2 separate regions of the Homo sapiens genome follow, and region 2 is linked to region 1. Evidence: promoter capture Hi-C in 16 types of primary human blood cells and fetal thymus (Javierre and others, 2016). All regions are on one chromosome and are shown on one strand. The core of a region is centred on a gene start or on the middle of the fragment in contact, and the rest is flanking DNA. Distances in the headings are between cores, read along the strand shown. Region 1 holds the start of SLC20A1 (solute carrier family 20 member 1). Region 2 overlaps BUB1 (BUB1 mitotic checkpoint serine/threonine kinase).

Region 1 (4,922 bases), core at 1,802-4,301:
AGATCCTACTAATGCTTCTGACTCTCTGCTAAGTAGCAAGATATACAGTTCTAATGAAAACTCTAAAAAAAACAAAAAAATCTGGTCCATGACTACTGGTGAGCCTCTAATTTAAGCATCCCAGTATCATACACTACAGTTGTAGGGAGTGGGAAGGTAGATGCTTATCGTACCTGTCTGCTGAATAAAACAGTACCAAACTTAGGAGTCCATAAATATCAATGAACTGTTTACTCTCATATTATACCAGGCTAAAGATATTTCAAGTTTTCAAAGTGTTAAACTGCTATATTCTGCCAGATTCTGGCTATGGAAAACAGTGATTAGTGAATCACTTTACTAGTCATAGAATTTCTACAGAGAAGAGACAAATCTTTCCCTAGAGAAGCTTACAACTAGACCAGACAAGTGGGTCTGAATACATTCTTACCTGCTGGGATTTATGCTATCTCCCTCAGATTTCTACAGTTTAGGAACACTTTTAAGAACTTACAATGGATTGTTAAGAGCCATTCACCTTAGAAAAAGGACAACTTTGTTTCCTGAGAAAAATGCATTTATCCTCACTGTAACTCAGTCCTATGCCAACATAATCCCTTGTCAACATTTATTTTGCAGCCAGCAAGACTTCTTGATAAAAGAAATGCAAACTGGGTCACTTAAAAGGGATTTTCAAATGGACAGGAAATTAAATGGCTGCCTGAAGTTTTTTTGGGGGGCGGGCCAAAAACTACCTTTAACTGGTTCTTTTCAACTATTCTGAGAAATTGGAGTCAAGTCACTATGGGAGGCAGAGTCCTCATCTAGAAGCTTATAAACTGGTTATGATAATCAGCACGGCAGAGACCCATTTAACTGGCAGCTTAGTTAAAAAAGCCACAGGGGACACTGTCTTGAACTCCAAGTTTACGTATTATATTAGCCTGAATATAACAGTGGTTTAAACAAATAATGTGTATACAGCTACACAAAACCACGCAAAATAAATTTCCTTATTTTTTTGCTCCCAGTTTCTCCTACTTCTTGGCACATCATAGTATTCAATTTTTCCTTCCTGACTGCCCTCTTGAGTATTAAAAACTCGCTTTCAGAGAACTCCACAACATACAAGAAATGCACAGAACAAAGAGCTTTTTAAAATTTTCCAAGGCCGCATACCTATACACCAATCACATCTGCAAAAGTACCACTGGGTTTGAAATCGATTGGGTGTGCTCCATGAAAGGTCTTCATACGGGGGAGAAAGGTTACCTTATGGAGGATGAATGCACGAACCAGGAAGAATAAAATTCCAGACATAATTCCAGAAAGCAGTGGGGACACGAACCAAGACATCACTGGAATAGAACACATTAAGAAAAAATATCAAATAATGAAAATCAGAAACCAAAAACCACTTTAAATGTTTAAGAGTTCAAAATTCTTGGGTCTGTCCCTCGACGTTAGAACACATCCTCCCATACCTAATGCCATGGTAACATATGACGAAAACGAAAATTAAGAAGCCGTTTGGAATTAAACATACCAATTTTTATCAGTTCAGACCACTTGACACCCTCCTGCCCCTTTGCCACGAGGGAGAAACCAATAGTTGCACCAACAATACAATGGGTTCCAGAAATAGGGAGCTTCAAAAACGAAGCCACGAGTTGCCACACAGCAGAACCTGAAACATAGTAAAGTTTTATTAAGTAAATATCAAAATTCCATTATGTAAGTGGCACATTCAGAAAGGTTAATCGGAAAGGTTATGCACAAAAATGGAACCACCCATGATACAAATTTGCTCACCCACCACGAAGAGGACAAAACATAAAAAGAACTTACCAAACATAGCACTGACTGAGCCGGCCATCAGCAGCCCTTGAGTCGAGTTGTACATCTCCACGTCAATCAAGCCCTTCCGGATGGTTTCGCTCACTTTGGCCCCCAGTAAGACAGAGCCCACTGTTTCAAAGATGCTAGCTAGGATGCAGGCTTGCTTCAGGGTCACTACACCTGAGCCCACAGCTGTACCAAAAGAATTTGCTACATCATTGGCTCCCACGGAGAATGCCAAGACAAATGCAATAATGAAGCCCAGGATGAGCATCCATAGGTAGTCCACCAAAGGACCAGAAGCGGCGGTAGCAGCTGTAGTACTGGTAATCAGCGTTGCCATTCTCTGGAGTAGTGGTTGTTTAGTAAGAGAACTACTGAGCGCCTTTCAAGATGTGTAAACAGAATATGAGGTATCAAAAATGCTATAATAAATAATATATATTATATAAAATTAAATACTGTAAACTACGGCACAGAAACCGAGCTGGGGAGTTACTGCTATACGCTGCGTATGGGCATCTGTTGTCTGGGGTTTCTTTGGCTCAGGAGGGCTAAAAGCACGGAGCAGAATTCCATGGCGGAGAAGAGAAAGGACGCAAGTTCATCCTGCGGGGGAGGGGGGAAATAACAATAGCTGCGTGCCCCTGGGGGGCCAGTGGGGCACCCCGCTCTACCCACGCGCCCGGGGTCCCGCAATAGCCTCTGCCGGCTACTCCAGACCCCCATCCCCAGTAGGACGCGCGAGAAGGAGAGGCACGTGGCTCCGGGTCCTCCGCGGCCCGCGCGCGCCCAGCCCAGCCCCTGCGCTGCCAGCCCGCGCGCGCCCTCCGCGCGAAAATCGGAAAAGGGCCGTTCCCGCGCGCGCCGCCCGGGGACCGCCAAAAAGGCCCGCGGGCGGGCAGACGGGCGGAGTGGAGGCGGCCAGCGGCGAAGAGAGAAGCCAGCCGCGCCGCCCACGGCGTCCGCCTCCAGCGCCACGGCGTCCGCGCCCGGCCCCGGGGAGAAGAAAGAGCCTTTACGAGGCGGCGCCACTACTCACCAGGGAAAAGGGAGGGCGGAGCGGGAGACGAGGAGATCGAGGCGACAGCGGCTGGAGCCACGGGCACACGGCCCGGGTCGGCGGCACCGGGGACAGCTCAGCGGGACTCACGACCTTCCCAGGAAGCAGCCGCGGGGGTTTCAGCGGCCGAGAAGAAGAACCACGCAGAGAGCGCCGGCAGCCATCACTCCAGCGGAGCACCCCGCCGGCCCCTACTTATAGCCCGCGCAGCGACCCGCGTGACCCCGCCGCGCCTCGCGCCGGCCCCGAAGCCCCGCCCCCGGCATGACGCAGCCCTCCTCGGCCCGGCGTGCCCAGCCGGGTGAGCCCGACGGTGGCGCTCATTGGCCCGGCCCGCTTCGGCGGCCACGCCCCCAGCGGGGAGCCGGTCCACGTGGGGCGGGACAGCCCCCTCCCTGCGGCCTCGCCCTGGAGTCTCGGCACCGTCTGGCCCCGCCGGCTGATTACAGCCAGAGATCGAGGGGGACCTCGCTGTCCCCCTAGAGGCCGTCATGCGGGGTTACAGAGGCTGCGACCAAAGTCATTCCTAGCTCCTCTCTCGGGGCTCCGGAAAGCCGTCCGCGCCTCCAGCCGCACTTTCAGCGCACGCAGGACCTGCCGCGCCCGGTGGCCACACCCGTCCCTCTGCCGGGTGACGCTGCGGGAGATCTTGCGCCCTGGGGCTCCGGATCCAGTTCTGGCACGTTGTTGCACCTGTGACTTGTCCTTGGCCTGGCACTGTCCCTCGCCTGGGGGAAGCGGGGGGGTGGGGGGGGGATGCTCACGTGGTCGCTTTGCTCCCGCAGTCATGCACTTGGGTGAAAACAGACTGAAGAGTCACGGGAACCAGCTTGTCTCCCCAGTTATGGCGCAGAGCTGCAAGGATGGCTGTGGGTCATTAATTTCTCCGTGGCTGACCTGTGTTTGTAACGCCGCAGCTGTTGCGAGGGGGAAGGACACTGCTTCGGATTCAAATTCTGACTCCTTGCTGCAGTGTGTCACCTTGAGCCAGTCCCAGATCTCTGCGTTCTCACAATTGTAAAATGTTAACAGAGGCTGCCTACCTTGTGGCTGGAATTAAATGAATTAACGTGTGTGAATGTGACTAGAATTCAGTACATGTTCAGGAAAAGCTGATTTCCGCTTTGCTGTTACCGTGAATATTACTGTTTTAGGGTGTAGAAAAGGGTGGAAGGGGATGTTATTGCATCCTGGAAGCTTATCCTTTTGAGGTAAAGATTGATTTCTGGTCCCCTGCGTGGTATATAGTGTAGTTTTGACATTATTTAGATGTGTTATGCACATTTGGGTGTTGATTATATGGCTTACGATCAAGACTAACCAGTCATGCCGTGGGAGATTAAGGTCGTGGTCTCTTGTCAGGATTGTAGTGAGATTTAAAAATTCCAGCCAGAAATACCAGGCTTAGAATGCTCTGAAGCCCTCCCCACATTTTTGCCATCTCTAGCAGGAGGGCACTGCATAGCAGAAACAAAGACGTTGTAAATTGTTGCTGCCTGAGTCATTTATAGAGGCTTAAACAACCTGAATGTCCTCTGACCTACCTGTAACATTTGATGGAGTTGTATGAGTAACTTACAAAGCTGTAGGTCCCAAGGTCGGTCTGAAAAAGAAAGTTCATATCCGGGAGCACTGACCCCGTAGTGTAATCCTGGCACCTTAAAACGTACTGCTCCCTCCACCTTCACTTCAAGGTTATGAAAACATTGAGTAAAAGGGATGATCTGTTCAAAGTCCTTAGTGTTCTGCCAATTTAAAACAGTAATTTTCAAAGCAGTTATTTGCAAGGAAATTGCCTAGAACTTCTCCCAGTGTGCGGTTGTTTTGTGTGTTTGTGTGTGTGTTTTGTTTGTTTGTTTTCAGTCTGTCCACAGGCGTACTTTTATAGGTCTGTGATAGTAGGTAGCTCTTCAAGTTGGCAAACACCTGCTGGACAACCCCTGAGAGATTCATCTGAGTGAGAGAGCACTCTCCAGCCCCATCGGAGTGGGTTTGCAGGGAAATCATAAGGTAGAGATTCAAAGGAATTCCCTTGCGTTGC
Region 2 (5,230 bases), core at 1,503-4,002, 2.0 Mb after region 1:
TGTTGTTGTCCATTTAGTCTTGGATTTGTACTAGTATTTTCTTTTCTTTAAAAAACAAACCCGGCTGGGCATGGTGGCTCACACCTGTAATCCCAGCACTTTGGGAGGCCAAGATGGGTGCATCACCTGGGGTCAGGAGTTCGAGACCAGCCTGGCCAACATGGTGAAACCCCATCTCTACTAAAATACAAAAATTAGCCAGGTGTGGTGGTGGGCATCTGTAGTCCTGGCTACTCAGGAGGCTGAGGCAGGAGAATTGCTTGAGCCCGGGAGGCAGAGGTTGCAGTGAGCTGAAATCATGCCACTTCATTCCAGCCCGGGCGACAGAGTGAGACTCCGTCTCCACAAAAAAAAAAAAAAAAAAAAAAAAAAACCCATCCAATTTTTAATGAAAACCAAATTGCACTCTCAGGTAACAGAGAAAGCATTCTGATCATCATAATGCCCACTAAATAGCCCCAAAGAGCAGAGGCTTTGTCTTAGCATTTTAAAAGCTCAAACCTGCAAAAAAAAAATTGATAATTTCACTGTATTTGTAGGATTTTTTTTTAATTCAAAATTGACCAAAATACTTAATCTGGACTCCATCTATTTTGAATGGAATCAAATGTGTTTAATGCAACTTTTAAAGAAATACAGCCATTTCTTTTTCTTAGAACTAAGTATCACATTTCAGCAATAAGCATTGCCTATCCTATCTGGTTGTTTAAAATTATTAGTTAGGTTTTACATTTCTTTTGGGTACTTCCTGGCATGTTGAGTTGATCAGAAAATTGTATAATACTTATTTTAAAAACGTTTTAGTTGAAATTTCTGAGACAGTGTGAATGAGTTGATTTACTTCTTATGATTCCTACTGGAAGGATCAGGGGAATTTATTATGTGATAATTTTACTTACGGTTTTACCCTTAATTTCTCCGTATTTTATCCTCTTTTCCCTCATAGCTAGAACCTCAGAACCTCTGCATAATGTTCAGGTTTTAAATCAAATGATAACATCAAAATCAAATCCAGGAAATAACATGGCCTGCATTTCTAAGAATCAGGTAATAATGACATTTGTAGCTTGTGTGGAAACTGGGAATGGTATTGAATGGCCAGCCTGGCTGCCTTCTACATCCACTTTGACATCTCATTTCTTTGATCTTTCTCTTCATGGCTCTGAGCTCCATGTCAGCCACCTGCTCCTGTGGCAACTTCCTGGGCCTGTTATTCTCCCACACAGCTCACCTCAAATACAATTTGTTGTCTAACCCAGAGGCCCTCACCACACGGCCTCCTGTCTTTACTCTCCCCACCAGCTTTTCCCTTACCAATGTCCTTTCCTCTGTTCTGCTGGCCTCTGCATAGGCTCTGGAAATCCCTACTGGGAATGGATCCACCTGGGGGCTTCTGAGCCTGGCTTTCAAAACTCAGAGCCTCAAAGATTGCTGCCTGTTACCTCAAGTAACAGGGAGGTCTCATACTCCCAGGCAATGGGTCATACTCCCAGGCAATGGGACATGCTTCCAGTGTCTGATTCACTCTTTATGTTTTGTGTATCTCTTATGTTTCCAGGTTCACTCTAGCGCCAAACTATAGTGATTTTAGACTTCTTTTCAGTCTCTTCAAACTTGGGACCTCGCTACCTCTAGCCTCTCTCTCAGGAACTTCAAAAATACTATTTCAACAGATAGCAGATGCCATCAAGTGACATCTATCAGTTTTCTGCCACCAACCAATAAATGTAACTGCATCCTTCCCTGTGAGAAAAGGTGGCCTTCTATCTGTGCTTGTCCTTATCCTCATCAAGGTTTTTGCCCTGTGGAGATCTCTTCTGCCTCCATGGTGTATCAACATGGGAAAATGCTCAAGTCTCTCTTCTTCCCTCAGCCTCATGTTTCCCAACTATGTTTCCCATGTTACCCTCCACAGTACAACTTTCTTTCAAAGTTCATCAAGGACCTCCTTGAAGCAAAAGCCAATGGAAACGCCTGTGTGCTTAGGGTGTATGTACAGGTTTCATTAATGTAATACATTCTTAGAAGTAGAATATGCGCTCCTGACTTTGACAGGTAGTGCAGCTTGTCCCAATTTACATTTTACGTCCTACACATGCTTGCCACCCTCCTGACCACCTATTGTCCTGTCTAAGCTCCAGACAGTAGAGATGGGTCTTGATTGCAGTCACATTTCCCAGACCTAGCTCAGAGTGTGACATGGAGGTGTCTGGCAAATATTTGTTTAGTGAAGGAATTTGAGAACTCTTGAGGGCAGAGTAGTACCTGAGGAAAATTTTAATTAAAAAAAAAATTAGCAGCAGTTGGGAATGTCAATCCCATAATGTTCAGACACTATACTCTAGCTACTAGACTATGAATTGAAGGGAAATCAGCTATGGTTCTTCTCTACTGCTGAGTAGGACTTTATTAAAAACAAAACAACAACCAAAAAAACCTCTTTCTTTGATTAGATTAAGTTACAATAGTTATTGTAAGGTTGTTGATACAAACAATCTTTTGATATTAATCATAATTTAAAATTACATAAATCTACTTGGGATTAAGGTCCCTCTTCCCCTCAAGCATTTTCATATTGTTTTGTGAAGTAATTTGGGTGAAGCTTTCTTCTCAGATAAGTGAATGCTCATGTTTGTTTTCTGTTTTTTAGGGTTCAGAGCTTTCTGGAGTGATATCTTCAGCTTGTGATAAAGAGTCAAATATGCAAGTATAATCAGTGCATTAATCTATTATTAGTTTCCTTTAAGTGCTCTTAGGTACATTGTTGTAAATAATGTATTTTCCCCCATTGTAGGGAACGAAGAGTGATCACGATTTCTAAATCAGAATATTCTGTGCACTCATCTTTGGCATCCAAAGTTGATGTTGAGCAGGTTGTTATGTATTGCAAGGAGAAGCTTATTCGTGGGGAATCAGAATTTTCCTTTGAAGAATTGAGAGCCCAGAAATACAATCAACGGAGAAAGCATGAGCAATGGGGTACTTGCAATCTTGTATTTTTAGTTATTCTTATGTCACATAAAAAAATCCTCATCTCTGAGTAATTACTTTTTTAAAGAATAATTGACTATGTTGAAAGACTGCAAGAAAGTCTTCATCTCATCCTATCAGAAGCCCAGAAATCATTATTAACCCATTTTGCGTTTGCCCCGAGAAAACTGCGCTGGCAGCAAGCTGCACTTTTTTTTTCTGAATTGGAAATTGCTTAACCACTAGTGTAGCAGCCAAGTTAGTCCAAGGACTAAATTGATGTCTTGGCAGCAAACTCATAGTTGAAAGAGTACTAAATTAGATATCCATACCAGTGTCATCTTAGCTTTAGTGAAATAAATATTTAAAAATTTTTCAGTATTATCTGTATATAGTAATTCTAAACCTCTAGGTCAGTTATTTGAACCTTTATTCCACTCAGGACTTTTATACTATCTAAGTTATTTGGGCTATAGCCATTCTGGGCCTTTCTTTTCTGTTCATTACTTTTCATACTCGGTTGACAACAGAGAAGACAAGTCAGTTAACACAGAGGACTCATTTTGTGCTGGGCATAGATGTGTTTTTCTTTCACATGCTGTGACCAGAAGTTTTAAGCCAGACTCTTTGACTTGCCTGTGGCATGACTCTGTTAACCAGTTGTTGGAAATGGGACTGACCACAGCATGCTTGAAGCCCTGATCATTTAGTGCAGTTCACTTCTACTTAGAAAGTCTCTAGAAATTTTTATCTTATAAAAACAAATAAAAATTTATTTTAAAATGATTTGCACAATCATGATTGTTTACAAGAACAGTCATGTATATGATGGCTACAAAAATCTTTACTATTATACTGTGCTATTATTATTATTTTTGATCAGCATGTAGTTTTTTTTTTTTTTTAGTAATTTACATGTCCTAAACATGTAGTAGCCAAGCTGTGGGCAGGTAAAAATTAAAAGGTAATACAAGTTTCACTTCTAAAACCAAATATGAGAAAGACTAATAAAAAAATCGGCCCCCTAAAATATAACCCTTTCCTCATTTTGCATGTATTCCTATGATGACCTGGATTTAAATTTTGCATGCAAACCATTTCTATCTTTCCTAAAGTAAATGAAGACAGACATTATATGAAAAGGAAAGAAGCAAATGCTTTTGAAGAACAGCTATTAAAACAGAAAATGGATGAACTTCATAAGAAGTTGCATCAGGTGGTGGAGACATCCCATGAGGATCTGCCCGCTTCCCAGGAAAGGTCCGAGGTATGTTGTGCTCCTCATGACACATCCTGTGCCCAGCAGCAGGAATGGCAGTTTGATTTGTTCCTTTCTATGTGCTGTTTTAGAGTTAATTCTGATGTTAATTTAGCTAGTAACTTTCTGAAAGTCTAAAATAATTTGACATAGACGTTCACAATGTAGAGTGAGAGTGGAAAGTTACAAAACAGAATGGTAGTATGTTTTACATGTTTGTGTATGTGTACATGTCTATATATTCATGTATTTATATATAGACCTTTTTCTGGTTTTTGTACAGTGACTATTGTGTAATGAAAATTGGAGTATAGTACTCTCAATAATTTATCATTTAGATATATTTTTTGTTTGCCATTATTTCATCTTGGAAAAGCAGAGAAGTGATGAGTGTGTTAGAGCCACATATATTTTCTTAAAATTAGTAGTGAATGAAGGAGATTGGAAATAAACTCATTTAAACTGTATAATGGTTGCTTAATCTTTCATATTATATGTTTGTCTATGACATAGGATACGATGAAGATAAAATACTTTATTTTCTTACATATTTGGAAAGTATAAAAATATGTGACTAGATGGTTTTTTAAAATATCACATGAAAGGTGTGTATATATGTATATATGAAGGAGAGCATTCATTTGTATATATGTATGTATGTATGCATACACACACACACACACACACACACACACACACAAACATTCTTTTTCTTTTTTTTTTAATTTTTAGACGGGGTCTTGCTCTGTCACCCATGCTAGAGTGCAGTGGTATGATAACTGTTCATTGTATCCTCCTTAGTAGCTGCAACCACAGGCATGTGCCACCACACCCACCTAATTTTTTATTTTATTTTTATAGAGATGGGGTCTCGCCATGTTGCCCAGCCTGGTGTCAAACTCCTGGGCTCAAGCGATCCTCTTGCCTCAGCCTCCCAAAGTGTTGTGATTACAGGTGTGAGCCACCACGTCTGGTCTGAATGTTCTCCTTTATTGCTAACTG

Evidence for each region. Contacts are between HindIII fragments. The CHiCAGO score rates a contact against its expected background, and 5 or more counts as called.
Region 2: a contact is called between a fragment that was not itself captured here and the fragment with the promoter of SLC20A1 in region 1, in 1 of 17 cell types (fetal thymus). The highest score is 6.4, in fetal thymus.

The regions. Positions count from the first base shown.
Region 1 is chr2:112,644,068-112,648,989 of GRCh38, reverse strand. It overlaps SLC20A1 (solute carrier family 20 member 1), which reads right to left and starts at 3,051. Exons shown (of 11, transcript NM_005415.5): 1 at 2,861-3,051; 2 at 1,828-2,427; 3 at 1,526-1,666; 4 at 1,252-1,337. The coding sequence starts at 2,161. It overlaps SLC20A1-DT (SLC20A1 divergent transcript), which reads left to right and starts at 4,810. Exons shown (of 5, transcript NR_033871.1): 1 at 4,810-4,891. RefSeq lists silencers at 1,804-2,098, 2,560-3,389. The HindIII fragment of the contact is 3,268 bases long and covers 813-4,080 here.
Region 2 is chr2:110,665,270-110,670,499 of GRCh38, reverse strand. It overlaps BUB1 (BUB1 mitotic checkpoint serine/threonine kinase), which reads left to right. Exons shown (of 25, transcript NM_004336.5): 6 at 947-1,047; 7 at 2,651-2,703; 8 at 2,795-2,979; 9 at 4,086-4,237. Among named protein-coding and RNA genes, the nearest start is that of SNORD132, 9.6 kb to the right of the region's middle. The HindIII fragment of the contact is 295 bases long and covers 2,605-2,899 here.